2 separate regions of the Homo sapiens genome follow, and region 1 is linked to region 2. The links are contacts of gene promoters, found by promoter capture Hi-C in blood cells and fetal thymus (Javierre and others, 2016). All regions are on one chromosome and are shown on one strand. The core of a region is centred on a gene start or on the middle of the fragment in contact, and the rest is flanking DNA. Distances in the headings are between cores, read along the strand shown.

What was found. Contacts are between HindIII fragments. The CHiCAGO score rates a contact against its expected background, and 5 or more counts as called.
Region 1: the fragment with the promoter of CMSS1 here is called in contact with the fragment with the promoter of ARL6 in region 2 in 2 of 17 cell types (non-activated CD4 T cells and naive CD4 T cells); the score reaches 7.6 in non-activated CD4 T cells.

What each region holds. Positions count from the first base shown.
Region 1 is chr3:99,812,866-99,819,403 of GRCh38, reverse strand. CMSS1 (cms1 ribosomal small subunit homolog) reads right to left here and starts at 1,542. Exons shown (of 10, transcript NM_032359.4): 1 at 1,361-1,542. The coding sequence starts at 1,424. HP09053 (a long non-coding RNA gene) reads left to right here. Exons shown (of 3, transcript NR_110821.1): 2 at 430-484; 3 at 932-2,772. LOC105374010 (a long non-coding RNA gene) reads right to left here and starts at 1,542. Exons shown (of 5, transcript NR_189163.1): 1 at 1,361-1,542. RefSeq lists enhancers at 1,276-1,585, 817-1,691 and a silencer at 1,107-1,861. The HindIII fragment of the contact is 550 bases long and covers 1,131-1,680 here.
Region 2 is chr3:97,759,618-97,766,141 of GRCh38, reverse strand. ARL6 (ARF like GTPase 6) reads right to left here and starts at 1,384. Exons shown (of 8, transcript NM_001278293.3): 1 at 1,165-1,384. It overlaps EPHA6 (EPH receptor A6), which reads right to left. Exons shown (of 18, transcript NM_001080448.3): 18 at 4,610-6,524. RefSeq lists enhancers at 1,227-1,336, 1,052-1,551, 1,377-1,916, 1,552-2,053. The HindIII fragment of the contact is 6,880 bases long and covers 1-4,016 here.

The DNA of each region.
Region 1 (6,538 bases), core at 293-2,792, 2.1 Mb before region 2:
CACAGCTAGTGAGGACTAGAACCAAGAATTGGGATCCCCTTCACCACTCAAACAGAATTCAACTATTTCTTAAATGGCCTCTGTTCATCTTCAATCATATCATAAAATAGAGCTTTTTAACACCTGAGTTGGGAGGGGTAGTTATTAAAGTAAATGTGGAACACCACAGGGCTGCAAAAGAGTCAGGAAGTTTAATCAAGGAAATGTTGTATTGGCTACCTTTCTAAAAATGACATCTGCTTAGTTTGTACCTGAAGGCTTGACCTTCCGGAAACAATGCAACAAATGAAGTTGGTTATTTTTAATGGATATTTCACAACTAGTATTTCAAGATTGTTTGCAGCAAATAGGTATCAAGTGTCTAACATGTGCAGGGCCCTGTGGATGACAGAAGTATGAATCTGACTTTGGCCCTGTCTTCTCTTGTAGAGAAAAGAGGCAGACCTTGAGGAGTGATAAAAACCAACCAACCAATAATTGCATGGTAGGTGTGATGGAACTTAAAAAGTTCAAGGCTAGCCTGACATGGGGGGTCACTTAACGCTACTCTACTTGGGGATGAAATGCCCACTGCATCAGGAGTTGGTAAACACAGCAGAGCATAGTAGAAACTATTCAAATTGTGTTAACTGAATTCTAGTATTGTTTCTGAAAGGAGCTAGCTTTGTGAACTTGTCAAGTTACTTGACATCTTTAGGTTATGTTTCTCATCTGTAAAATAAGTGAGTTCAAAGGATGATCTCTATTTAAGCCTCCTTCCAGTTCTACTATTCCAAATTCCATGATAATGATGATGACCACAAGAAATACAGTAACTTATATTTACCACACATTATATGTCAAGCACTATGCTAAAGTGCATTACTGTACTAACTTCACTTAATCTTCACAACTTTACGAAATGGACATTATTGTTATCATTATTTTACAGATGAGGAAAAGGAGGCTAAACAGTATCAGAATACTGGAGTCGTGATTTGAATGGAGGGAGTCTGAAGCAGCAACCCCTGCTTCTGACCTCAGTCTGAATTGAAAGCAGTTCATGGGTCACCCTTAACCATCATACAAAGTTGCCTCTCTTCACAAAAACTGTCTTATCCATTCTCAAGAAATAAGGAAAAGAGAAAGCTTGTGGAAAGGATCCTTCCTGGCTGGCAGACAGATCTGAGTTAATGTCACAGCTGTCTGTTTCACGTGTTAAAGAATCTCTTGCACCATTTTCCCCGAGATGCTTGCGCGCTCCCAAGGCGGTGCACACCCCTGCTGGGCAAACACCGCGATCGCCAGAAGCGACCAGGGCTGAGGCGCACGGAAGGGCTCCGGGAGAGGCCCCGTAGGAGCGCGGGCACAGAGTGGGTACCTGGGCTGCTGCCTGCTCCAGTCGGCTGGTTCTCCCACCACTCGTCTCCGAGATCGTCTGCCATTTCAGCTCAGGTCTCGACGTGGGCAGAACATCACGGGTAGGCGACCAGCTGCGGAGAATCACGTTGTCTCAAAGCCAGGCGGCCGGCGTAGCTACACGCGGAGCTCCCGCTAGACACTGTCGCCTCCGCCCCGCGGCGATGACGTCACACCTCTGCCCCGCCTCTCCGGCAGCCGCTCCCAGACTCGTCGCAGTTTCCACACAGGCGCCGACAGGCAGAAGCAGTTTGGAAACGCAACATAAATCCCCCCAAAGCTTAAAGACAAAAAGGAACATAAGACGAAAGGGATTGTCATCGTTTTTGATAATGCATTTTAAAAAATTTTGTTTACGTGTTACGTTTCCCGATAAGATTGTGTCGAAAGTGTGAGACACCATGTGAAGACGATTTTTCTCCGCTCAGTTTCAAAGAACTTGCGCAGCGGGAGAAGACCCAAACATGTGCGTGTGTTTTCGCTTGTGCGTCAGTGTTTCAGAGTTTATGTGTTTGTACAGTTTGCTCTTAGAAAACATGCGCAAGGATCCATGACCATGAATGTCGGGCCTTTGTGGTAAATGTAGTTCTGCTATTTATGCAATATGAGTAAAGAAAATGTAATTGGCCTGGAAAGGCTCGCCCACAGAAAGACGCAAGTGGCTCGAAGACCCGCAAGTTGTTTTCCTCATACTCCCTCGGTTGTGTGTCCCACCCCCTATTTGGGAAACGAAGTAATAAGGGAGTCCATTGCTTCGTAACTATAGGTAAGAGACCCGCAGTGCCTCTTGTCTCAGTCCCAACGTGATTTGGCAGGGAGGGACTAGGAAAACCCGCTGGGCGCCAAGTGCTGGGGCTAGCTGTGAAGTAATTGTGGACGGTATTTTTCAGGACATCAAACACAGACGTAAAAATTATACAAAATGTAGTAAAAGCACGCAACGTGCCTGGTACTATGCATGGAATAGTAAGATGAGTCCATTCAGATGTTAGCCTACAGTAGTGGAAATTCAATTTGTAGGAATAAAGGGCTAGACTTCTAATAGGATACATCCTCGGAAATGACAAGACAGGGAAACTTAATCTGATGAGGCTAGGATTAGCCATATGTGGAAAATTACCCCGTGTGCACCCAACTCATAGATGTTTTATAAATGCATTACTGCCTAGACTTTGTCCGCACACTCTAAATGCCCCAAAAGGGAAGATATTATGTATAAATATGGCAAATGTAAAATAATCTATAAAGATCAAAAGTAATATGGCTTTTGTGAAGAAATGTAGATGACGAGATTTTCGTGATTAATAGATTTTTGAAAAAGATAAGAAATGCCAGTGTGGAAGAGGAGTTGCTATGGCTAATAAACATGAAAAGAATTCAGTCTGATTATTAATCTGGGAAATACAAAAAAAACACCACAGCGAGACCGTTTTTCAGGCAATAAATCACAAAATTAAGAAGTATGGGCCGGGCGCGGTGGCTCAAGCCTGTAATCCCAACGCTTTGGGAGGCCGAGGTGGGTGAATCACCTGAGGTCAAGAATTCCAGACCAGCCTGGCCAAAATGGCGAAACCCATCTCTACTAAAAATACAAAAATTAGCCGGGCATGGTGGCAGGCGCCTGTAATTCCAGCTACTTGAGAGTCTGAGGTAGGCGAATTGCTTAAACCCGGGAAGTGGAGGTTGCGGTGAGCCGAGATGGTGCCATTACACTCCAGCCTGGTTGACAAAAGCGAAACTCGGTCTCAAAAAAAAAAAAAAAAAAAAAAAAAAGAAGTCTGGCAATACTAAATTATGGAGTGTCTATGCATTAATGGGAATTGATACCTGTTTTGTACCATGAACTATGAATGGTCTTACATTATATTCCACCTCGCCTCAGCCTCCCGAGTAGCTGGGACTACAGGCACATGCCACCATTCTTGGTTATTTTGTTGTTGTTTTTGTTTTTTGTAGATATGGCGTCTCATTTTGCTGCCCAGGCTGGTCTTTAACACCTGGCTTCAAGCAGTCCTCCCACTCCAGCCTGCCAAAGTGTTGGTATTAGAGGCCTAAGCCACTGTGTCCAGCCATTTTTTACATTTTTAAAGCATTGTAAGAAACAGAACAAAACAACAACGACAACAACAAAAACGTAAAGAAAAATATGCAGCAGAGACTGTAGCCCTCATATATTTACTATTTATTACTATTCCCTCATATATTTGCTCTAACTTTACAGAAAAAAGTTTACTGACCCCAGATTATATTGAATAGCCAACCTAAGTTGTAGCATCCATTTCTGTTCTGTTTGTTCTGTTATTAGTGAATTGGTTATTAGTGAATAGGCATCCTGGTTTATAAATCAGTGTATTGTAAAACCGTACTCTCCAGTATCTGATCATATCATCTAACACAGGGAAGCTCAGGCTGAAATAACTATTAGGTCTTTTTCTGCTCCCTCTTACTGTTCAGTATCTGAATGAGTATTATTAGAGTTTAAAGGAGGAAGCATTCATTTCCCAATGGGGCGAACTGGGAGGTAGCACTTGACAATGGATGTCTGTCGGCAAAAATGGATAGGGTAAATGATAGTTCCTTGGCAGAAAGATTGCAATGTTGCTTTGAATAAGTTATTAAACTTTGCTGGGCATTTCTTTGTGAGTCTGTAAAATAAAGGGGAGCAATTTCATGATTCCTGTGGTCTCTTCCAACTCCATGCCTTAATCTTGAGTATCAGACCAAGAATTCTGGATTTTTGTCGTTGTTATTAGAGGCAAAGGACATGATGGAAGTATTGTTTTAGGAAAGCTAAATTGGTATTACTGTGCAGGATGAATAATGGATTTGAGCAGAGCTTCCCACCTGGCATGGGTGGGCTGAAGACTGACCCCTGCAGTCTTTGGAGGAAGCAGTGACCTTGGGGCAGTTGCCTCAGGTTGAGGGTATCATCATCTTTTCACTCTAGTGTTGTACAGATATTACCATTTTCTATGGATGCCATGATGTGAAAGGTTGGCAAAAACTGAATTAGTAAGAGAGCGATAAAGTTTGAAGGCTGTTTCGTGAATGCTCACCACACAATGAAAAGGTCTTAATCAGTGCAGAGGTTCTTAGTCAATAAGCCCAGCCTATAAGTGTACTTCAGGAACCATCATAATGCATTCAAACTTTTGCATCATGTAGACAATAATGGTAGTAACAATATCAACAATAGCATGTTGTATGTACCTCTCTATGCCTCTTATATCTTAATTCATTTAATCATAACTCCATGAGATACTGTGCTGGGACTAGGGTGAGGCAAGCAGAGACCTAGGATACCAGATTTAAGGAGGCAGTCACTCTCAGGCTGACACTGACACCGACCTGAGAATGCTTGTCTCACTTGAGTCCTGACGCTGGTCCCTTTACTGAAGGCCACAGCTCTAGTTCAGCAGCTCTCCTCAATTCTTTCTTCTGAGTCTAGTAACTTGCCTTTGTCTCTTCAGACTTAGGAGTGGTAACTGCTCCCCACCATTACTAGTCCTGGGGTTCTACACCACGTTTCATTTCCCTAACCTGACCTCATGTTCAGAAATACTCCCCTTACTAAATTATTTTCAGTTTTCCAGCTTAAATGGGTCATCTTTTGCATGGTAGGACCCCAACTGATAAAATCAACTGCCTACTTAGGGTTCCCCTCAAAGCAGAGCCTGTGACAAAGGCTTGGGTGCAAATAGTTTATTTGGGAGGTGATACCAGGATGCAGGAATAAAGGCAGAGAGAATGAGACAAAGAAGGAGGATTGATATTAAACTGGTTTTGATGTAGACAATGACTGGCTCTTTATCCTCTTGAAGACCCTCTGAAAAAAATAGGATATACCCCAGAATTAGCCTCACAAAGTGATACAGGAGTTAAGAAGAAATTACTTAGACACATAGTAAGGGTATGGGAGTCCTCAGTAAGGCTTTTCTTTTTAATGAAAAGCAGCCCCAAATAATTTTCTAACAAAGAGCAGCCTGCAAGCTGGGAGCTTACACGAATGAATGCTGGCAGGAACTAAGGACTAGACATGTTCAAATGGCGCCTCCGTTTTCCCTTCTCTGCCAGCCACGTGTACTGCAAGGAGCAGGCAAGATGGCACTGATCAACTGGAAAGTCCATTTGCATAATAAGATTAGGGTGGAGTGACCAGCCTTCCCCGTGTGCTATGAAAACATCATACCTGGTCGAACCAATCTGTGAGCCCTATGTAAATCAGACACCACCTCCTCAAACTGGACTAGAAAATTCGGCACTTTCCGCCACCAGCCAGTCTTTTCTGCTTGGAGACCCCTTTCTCTATATAAAGAAGAGACCTCTTTTTCTTCTCTTCTGCCTGTTAAATGTACGCTCCTAAACTCCTCGTGTGTGCCCAGGTCCTAAATTTTTCTGGTGCACAACGATGAACCCCAGGGTATACACCCCAGACAACATAGCATCTTCAAAAGGACAGAAGGCTAGGACACTTATCCACTGACTGTCATCTACCATTGAGTGAGGGTTGTTGCCAGGGTTATGAATTGGCAGATATTCCCAGGCTGTGCTGCTGTTGGAGAAAGCCCTGAGGCAGAAGAGTAGAGCAGTATACCTCAGCTCACTTGAGGTGGGATAATGACAGTGTGCCCAGAACTTTCCTCCATGGCTGAGCCAATTTCAAAATGAGCTAAGGGGCATAAAAAGCATCTGCTCCAGGTTTATACTGTTTTTCTTTCCATTTTATAGATGGTGAAACTAAGGCACAGAAAATTAAGTAACTTGCTGAGTTACTAGTAAGTGATTTCCCATCTGCCCCATGACCTTCATACACTCCCAATGTGGTCTGTGTCCCCAAAATAACCCACAGTCACTGCACTAGGGTAACAATAGTATAGAAAAAAAGGAAGAACCAAAATGAGGAGCATTACCATCAATTTGTGCTAATATTTTGGAAATAGGATGGTGAGGAAAACAGAAGTCAAAAAAATCTAAAGGTTCAAATCTTAAAAACTAAAAAAAAAAAAAAATCTTAGACGGGACTAGTAAAACGAGGAGGGAACAGTTTAGGGGGTAAAATGATGAGGTAGGCCTTAGACAAGGACAAAACAGACCATAAACAATAAGGACAAAATAGACAAAAGACAACTAAATGAATAAA
Region 2 (6,524 bases), core at 135-2,634:
AAAGCACTGAGTGTTTAAAGCCTGATGCTTGAATATTCGTTTTTCACAGTACCTTGTATTGTGACTTTCCATCACTTTTCCATGGATTATCACTTGATACTTGTTAATGAAATATTTTGGGACACACAATTTAGAAGAGCAGGCAGTTTTTCTAAAAGAGGTAATCACATTTATTGAAATTGCTTTATAAACAACTATCATAGAGCCTTTAAACTTCTACGTTTCAAGTAGTTATAATTTTCCTTCCATAAGTTGACTTTCTGCATGCATAAATAAAAGATAATTGAAGCCAGTCAATATTTGTTAATCGTGTCTTAAGTGTGCAGCGAGAGACACAACTGTTTTCTGCAGCTTCCTACTCTGATAGCCATGATTCTCAACCCTGGCTGCACTCTGAAATCAATTGCTGAATCCGAATTTTTGAAAATAAGATCAGGGCATCTGTAGTTTTAAAAGCTACCCAGTGTTTCTGATGTGAAGTTACTATTGAGAACTACTGGCTTTCAGAATAAAGCCAGTAGTTTCAAACTTCCAAGCACAGCTTTTAAGGTTGTCCACAATCTGGCTCCAATCTTCCTTTCTTGTTTCTTATCTTACTGTAACCCTCTCTTTGCACACCAGCCAAATTCTCTTGGTTATTGTCTGACAGACTGTTTCCTAAAGGATTACATATTGCCAGAGAAGTCCAGAAGAATTAGGATGTTATCCACAGTTAACAGCTTAGAGGGTAAGCTGCAGAGACAGAGTGGTAGCCCAGAGAAAACACCACGAATGATACTTAGTAAACTCTGTAAAGTGTTTGTTGATTGAAATGTTGCCTACTTTTATTACCCCAAATAAACATTCTTATTCGGCTTTCAGTTTTTTATGATATAATTTAAATTACACTTACACACACACACACACACACACACACACACACACACACACCCCCAATACACGGGTCTAAGTTGAGCATTGTTAAAACCCATCAACCAAACATACGTCCAAACCAGTTTAGTAAGTTTTCTAGGGCCTCTATAACTCACCTTCTTTTCTACTTCTCATACATTAGCAACAACTACACGCGTGGAGTGAAAAACATGGGAAAGACCAAAGAGGAATTCTAAAACTGACGGGGACAGAGGGTGGCGCTGGCTTTAAAAACCGGCGTTGAGGAGATACCTGGTTTTTGAGGTTAGTCCGGAGGGCGCAGGAGCTGGCAACAGGAATGGACGCACTCGTATCGGTCTCCGGGATGGAAATCTGGTGCGAGGGTCCCTCAGCCTTCTTCTCGATGCCTACATGGGAAGGATGCCTGGTAATGAGCAAAGCCGTCTCTAGAAGTTGGGAAAACCGGCAGCCTCTGCAGCAGTCTGTGCATCAGTCGCTGAGCAGGCGCCTTGGCAGGCACCGTTCCCTTGGCAACAGGAGCTTCTTCCGGTCCTGAAGCCACGCCTCCCCGGGGGTCCTGGCGATTCAGCCGTTGTGCTATAGCTTCTGGGATTGAAGAGCTCCGGGAAAAGGTCAGAGGCGCGCCGAGGAACTATACATTGAAGAAAAATGTGTGCACAGGTGGCAGGGTGAGCTGCCTATTTCCTGCGAGGAGCCGGGCAGTTCCCGGCGTAGCATCATGGGAGTTGTAGGCTCGCGCACAGCTTTCTGGGAAGCGTTTGGCGTTCGCGTGTGCTGCGTGTTTGTCGCTCGGCCCTGGTCTTCCTGGGGATCCAAGAGGCTGGCGCTGGGTGTGGCGCGGAGAGTGTCGTTACCGGGCACCAGCGTAGCGTTGTGGCAACGACTGCAAGACGATACTGTCCCCCCTGGGGCAAGATGTGCGCCGGAGTTCCCCAGTTGCCCATCGCACCGACTCTTCTCTGGGTTCTGATAGGCCTCCCACCCTGAGTCCCTGTAGAGGTAAAACTGTTAATACAGGAAGGTAGAGGGGAGAACTGGTGTAAAAAGTCAAAAGGTGTTATTCGGCTAATAAAGTATGCCTGTACCCCTGCTTCTTAGTTGTGTGGTCTCCCGAAGAGATTTCTACCAGGCATAATCTCCTGTGAGTAGATTACAGTCTCCAGAATCAAATCGGCAGGTGGTCAGGAAAGGTATTAATAGTCAATACTTAAAGTTGACCACCTTCTTAAATTGCACTTGGATTTTATAGTCATAGTCACAAATGGTCTTCAAATAGAAAATATTTAGGCATACCCTTCCCCACATCTTTTATTACTGCGTTTTCCAACGGACACATTACAGATGCAGTCATTTTAAAGATCTAGCCTTTCAATCTGCCCAACTCCACTAACCTCACCCCCAGCGAATGGCCTCATTCTTCAAATAGGGGTTTGTATCTCTTCATTTTTTTTGTTTGCATGGGTGTAGGATTTCCGACCCCCTGCCCCCCACCGCGCGACCCTTTTCAACTAGCTAGTGTATGTTTACTGCACTGCCTGTTCTTTGGCCTGTCAATTCATTTGGCCTATTAAATGGACTAGGAGGGTGCAAAAAGAGACTAGAAGGAATTATTTCAAAGTAATATGGTAGGGGGGACGGTTGTAAGCGTGTGATTATGGGGTGATTTATCTTTTGTCACTTCTCCAAATTTCCAAATGTAATTGTCATTTTTACAGCGAAAAAACAAAAGCGGCTCTGGATTAGTGATTCTTGTTGAAAGACAAAAACAAAACAAAGACCCTATGGATGCATATCAACATATAAATGTCCTTGTAAAAATGGAGTATGGAAATACATTCTTTCTTACTGTGTGGTCTTAGCCCAATTTACCCTTCTCCGTGCTTCTATCCTCACCTTCAAAAATATAGTATTTATCTTATCTGGTAGTTCTGAGTATTAAAGATAACAGAAATACAGATGTTTGGCACATATTTATTGTTCAATAAATAATGTCCTGTCTTCTTTTGTCTTGAGCTTTTTATTGTGTAAACAAAATTGACCCAAACCGTAACTATGGTGGTTCTTTAACTTCTGAACTTCTAATCGTGAATGCATTGACAGGGAGGTGTTGAACACTTTTCTGTGTGCCTGGGTGTTGTGACTTACTTGTAAGAGATGGAAGCTAATGTGCTTGCGGCCAAAATATAACATTTTTTTTTCTTAGCGATCGGCAGAAATGTTATATTTCAGAAAACTTTCATGGACAGACTCAATTTTTCCTGCTAAAAGTTGATATTTTCTGCCTCTAGGTTGAGTTCATCTCTTTTGGCTTAATATAAAACATTTGGTGAAAACTGGAAATAAAATGGACATATTGAGCATCCAACTTTTCAGGAAAACAAGGCAGATAGATAATTCTTCTACAAAAATGTAGCTAGTCAAATCGTTATCTTAGATAAGTATAGTTGATAGATGGCTTATTACTAGAGATAAATGTTATGAAATAAAGCAGTAAAATAATCTAGAAAAAAATGTTAGCCTTGAAAATATTAAACTTAAAAAAACATAAAGGCTGCCAGGCCCGGTGTCTCACGCCTGTAATCCCAGCACTTTGGGAGGCTGAAGCAGGTGGATCACCAGGTCAGGAATTCAAGACCAGCCTGGCCAACATGGTGAAACCCCATCTCCACTAAAGATACAAAAATTAGCCGGGTGTGGTGGCACGTTCCTGGAATCCCAGCTACTCAAGCGGCTGAGGCAGGAGAATCGCTTGAACCGGGGAGGCAGAGGTTGCGGTGAGCTGAGATTGTGCCATTGCACTCTGGCCTGGGCAAAAGGGTGAGACCCTGCACTCAAAAACAAAACAAAACAAAAAACATAAAGGCTGGGCACACTGGCTCACACTGTAATCCCACCACTTTGGGAGGCTAAGTAAGGCAGGAGGATCTCCGGAGGCCAGAAGTTGGAGACCCCATCTCTATTAAAAATAAATACATATAAATATTTCATATGGTTGATTCTGCTGTTTTGGTGCTTTGTCAACTGAAACTCCTCTCACGAGTACATTCAGAGGCTGAGATACAATTGTTTCGCTTGATTTAAGAAGTTAGTTTGACTCTTTTTTATTATGACAATAACAAGCTTTAAAAATGCTACGTGATTTTCTTAAAGCCACTTAACCATAACAGAAGATAATTTTAGGTACCTTCTCACCAGTTTTAATTTCATACTGGCTTTTAGAACTGTAGTAAGAAAATTATAAAAAAGAAAAGAGTCAGATATAATGAACACAGCACTGTTCTGATTAATTCAGGATACTTTAGCGTTATTTTCTCACCAGCAACTTTTAAAAGAATATAGATAATCCCTGATTTATAACTTACTGCAACTTTTTGGTGTAAACTTTGGTCTAAAGCTGTGTTTCAACAGTTGATGTTATGTGTACCCTTTTTTCATCTGCAATTTCTGTGCAGTACTGCCTCTGCAATGAACACTTTAATTTACTTGAATCTCACAAAATATTTTCCAATATAAAATCGCTACAAAAATATTTACTAGTTTTTTATAGTGATTTCTGTGAATTTATGTCTAAACCTAATGACATTATTTAAAAAATTTACAACTATGATTTTGCATCCAGAATTACTAAATTATCTAAACAGCATCTAGATTTATTAGACCAAAAAATAAATTGCATTAGATCTGCATAAATACAACAATACAAAAAAGTCACAAATTCAACCACCAAAGCTGTAACTTTTATTTGCCAATAGATATTTTAATAAACAGGCTTACTCCATCTGTAAGACCCTGATAATGCCTCTTAGGAAATCATAGAAAAATAAAATACAATAATTAGTAATTTGTACCTTGTACAAAAATCTTATTATGTTGCTCAGCAGGTAGTTTGCTAAACAGCATATTCTTTCAGCAAATAGATGACATATGTTATGCAATTCACCACAAACAACCCCTCATATTGAGAGCTGAGCATTCTATAACACTATTAACTTGTAAGCATGCCAGCACATGAAAATTTACATGGAAAGTTATTAATATTATAGTAGATTTTTGTAAGATAAAAATAGTACCACCTTCAAATAAGTCTGGACTACTTCACTGCTATAGTAAAGTAGATAATAGGTAGGATTGCAGTTCAATTGTTAACACCTTTTTACCTTGTTTATAGCTCTACCATATTGTGATTATAACCAGAAAAGAGAATGTAGGCTGTGTCAGGAACCTGAGTGGAAGGCATATATTGAAGCTTTAAATGGTGACAGAATACTAAAGAGAAAAACATAAAACAGTGCTATACTTCCCTATTCTCATAGATAAATCTTTTTCCCCTTTTGTAAGAGCAGATGGGTACAGAGTTAAATCCTTAATTAATAATAAATAGCTTCATGACAAGTTACAATGATGCTTTAAAAATCATATTTGTACTTATAGGGAGGGAAATTATTTTTAGCTGTCGTTTTTTATTAGTCAAATATAGCTCTATGAGGGATTAAATATCTCAACCTAGACATGTTATCTAGGTATTTTATATAAATATGCTATTTAGTTTGCATATACTTCAGGATTTGTGCTACAAAGATTTTATAACATTTTGAGTGCACTGCAATTGTTGATATCATCTACCATTTAAAATTTGATGCGGCCATTTAAAATTTAAAGTGTTTAATCAAATACATATGTATATGTACATCTATATCTTTATATTTTTGGCTATGCTAGAACAGCAAAAAATGGAGAGCAATCTCCATTATTCACAATCTAATTTCACATCAAATCCAAATAATAATGCATCTTTAAATTCCAACATATTGAATTACATACAACCTAGAGAGATATATATACACACATACACACATACATATGTATATATACATATGGTATATATACATATATATAATATATATATATATATCTCCAGAAACAAAGCACCAAGCACAATTAAAAGATCACATTCTTCCTATAGGATAGAGGGGCACAATGAACAACCAACCATATTGCCCATGTGTTTTCCGTAAATGACAGAAGGCATTGTTTTCCTATATGAAAACAAAATAATTTTTACTAAAAGATTAGTTCCTGTTTGTCTTTTATTTTAAAATTTACATGGGACCTCAATACCCTCCCAAATCGTGTTTGAAAAAAGTGACAGGTTGATTATGCAATATACATCTTTCAGGATTAAGCTAATTTTAAGTTTGATAGGCTTTGCATTATAACAGATTAGCTACAAAATGTTTCTGCCTTTTAATCTGTAATAGATGAAAATAAGGAAAACAGTATTTATGGCATTGAGAAGTTCTCAATCTCTACATTATGGAAAGGACTCTTACCAGAGTCCTTGGAAACCACAGAATTCAAAGTTTCGGGTCTTCCAATAAGATGTCTCAAAAATATTTAGTAAAGATGCCTTTAAAATATTTCATCAAATATATATTCACTTTCCTACTATCCAACTACTTACATATGTCTCTTCCAACCTATACGTCCTTCCCATCCTGCATATTGGCTTTTATCTCATTCTTGGTAAAATTAAAAAAAAACTTACGTAGTGACATCCTTCCCTTTCTACCACAAATATACCAACCTATTTGCACATTACACATTCTGCCTTCCTTTCATTGGAGTTCTAT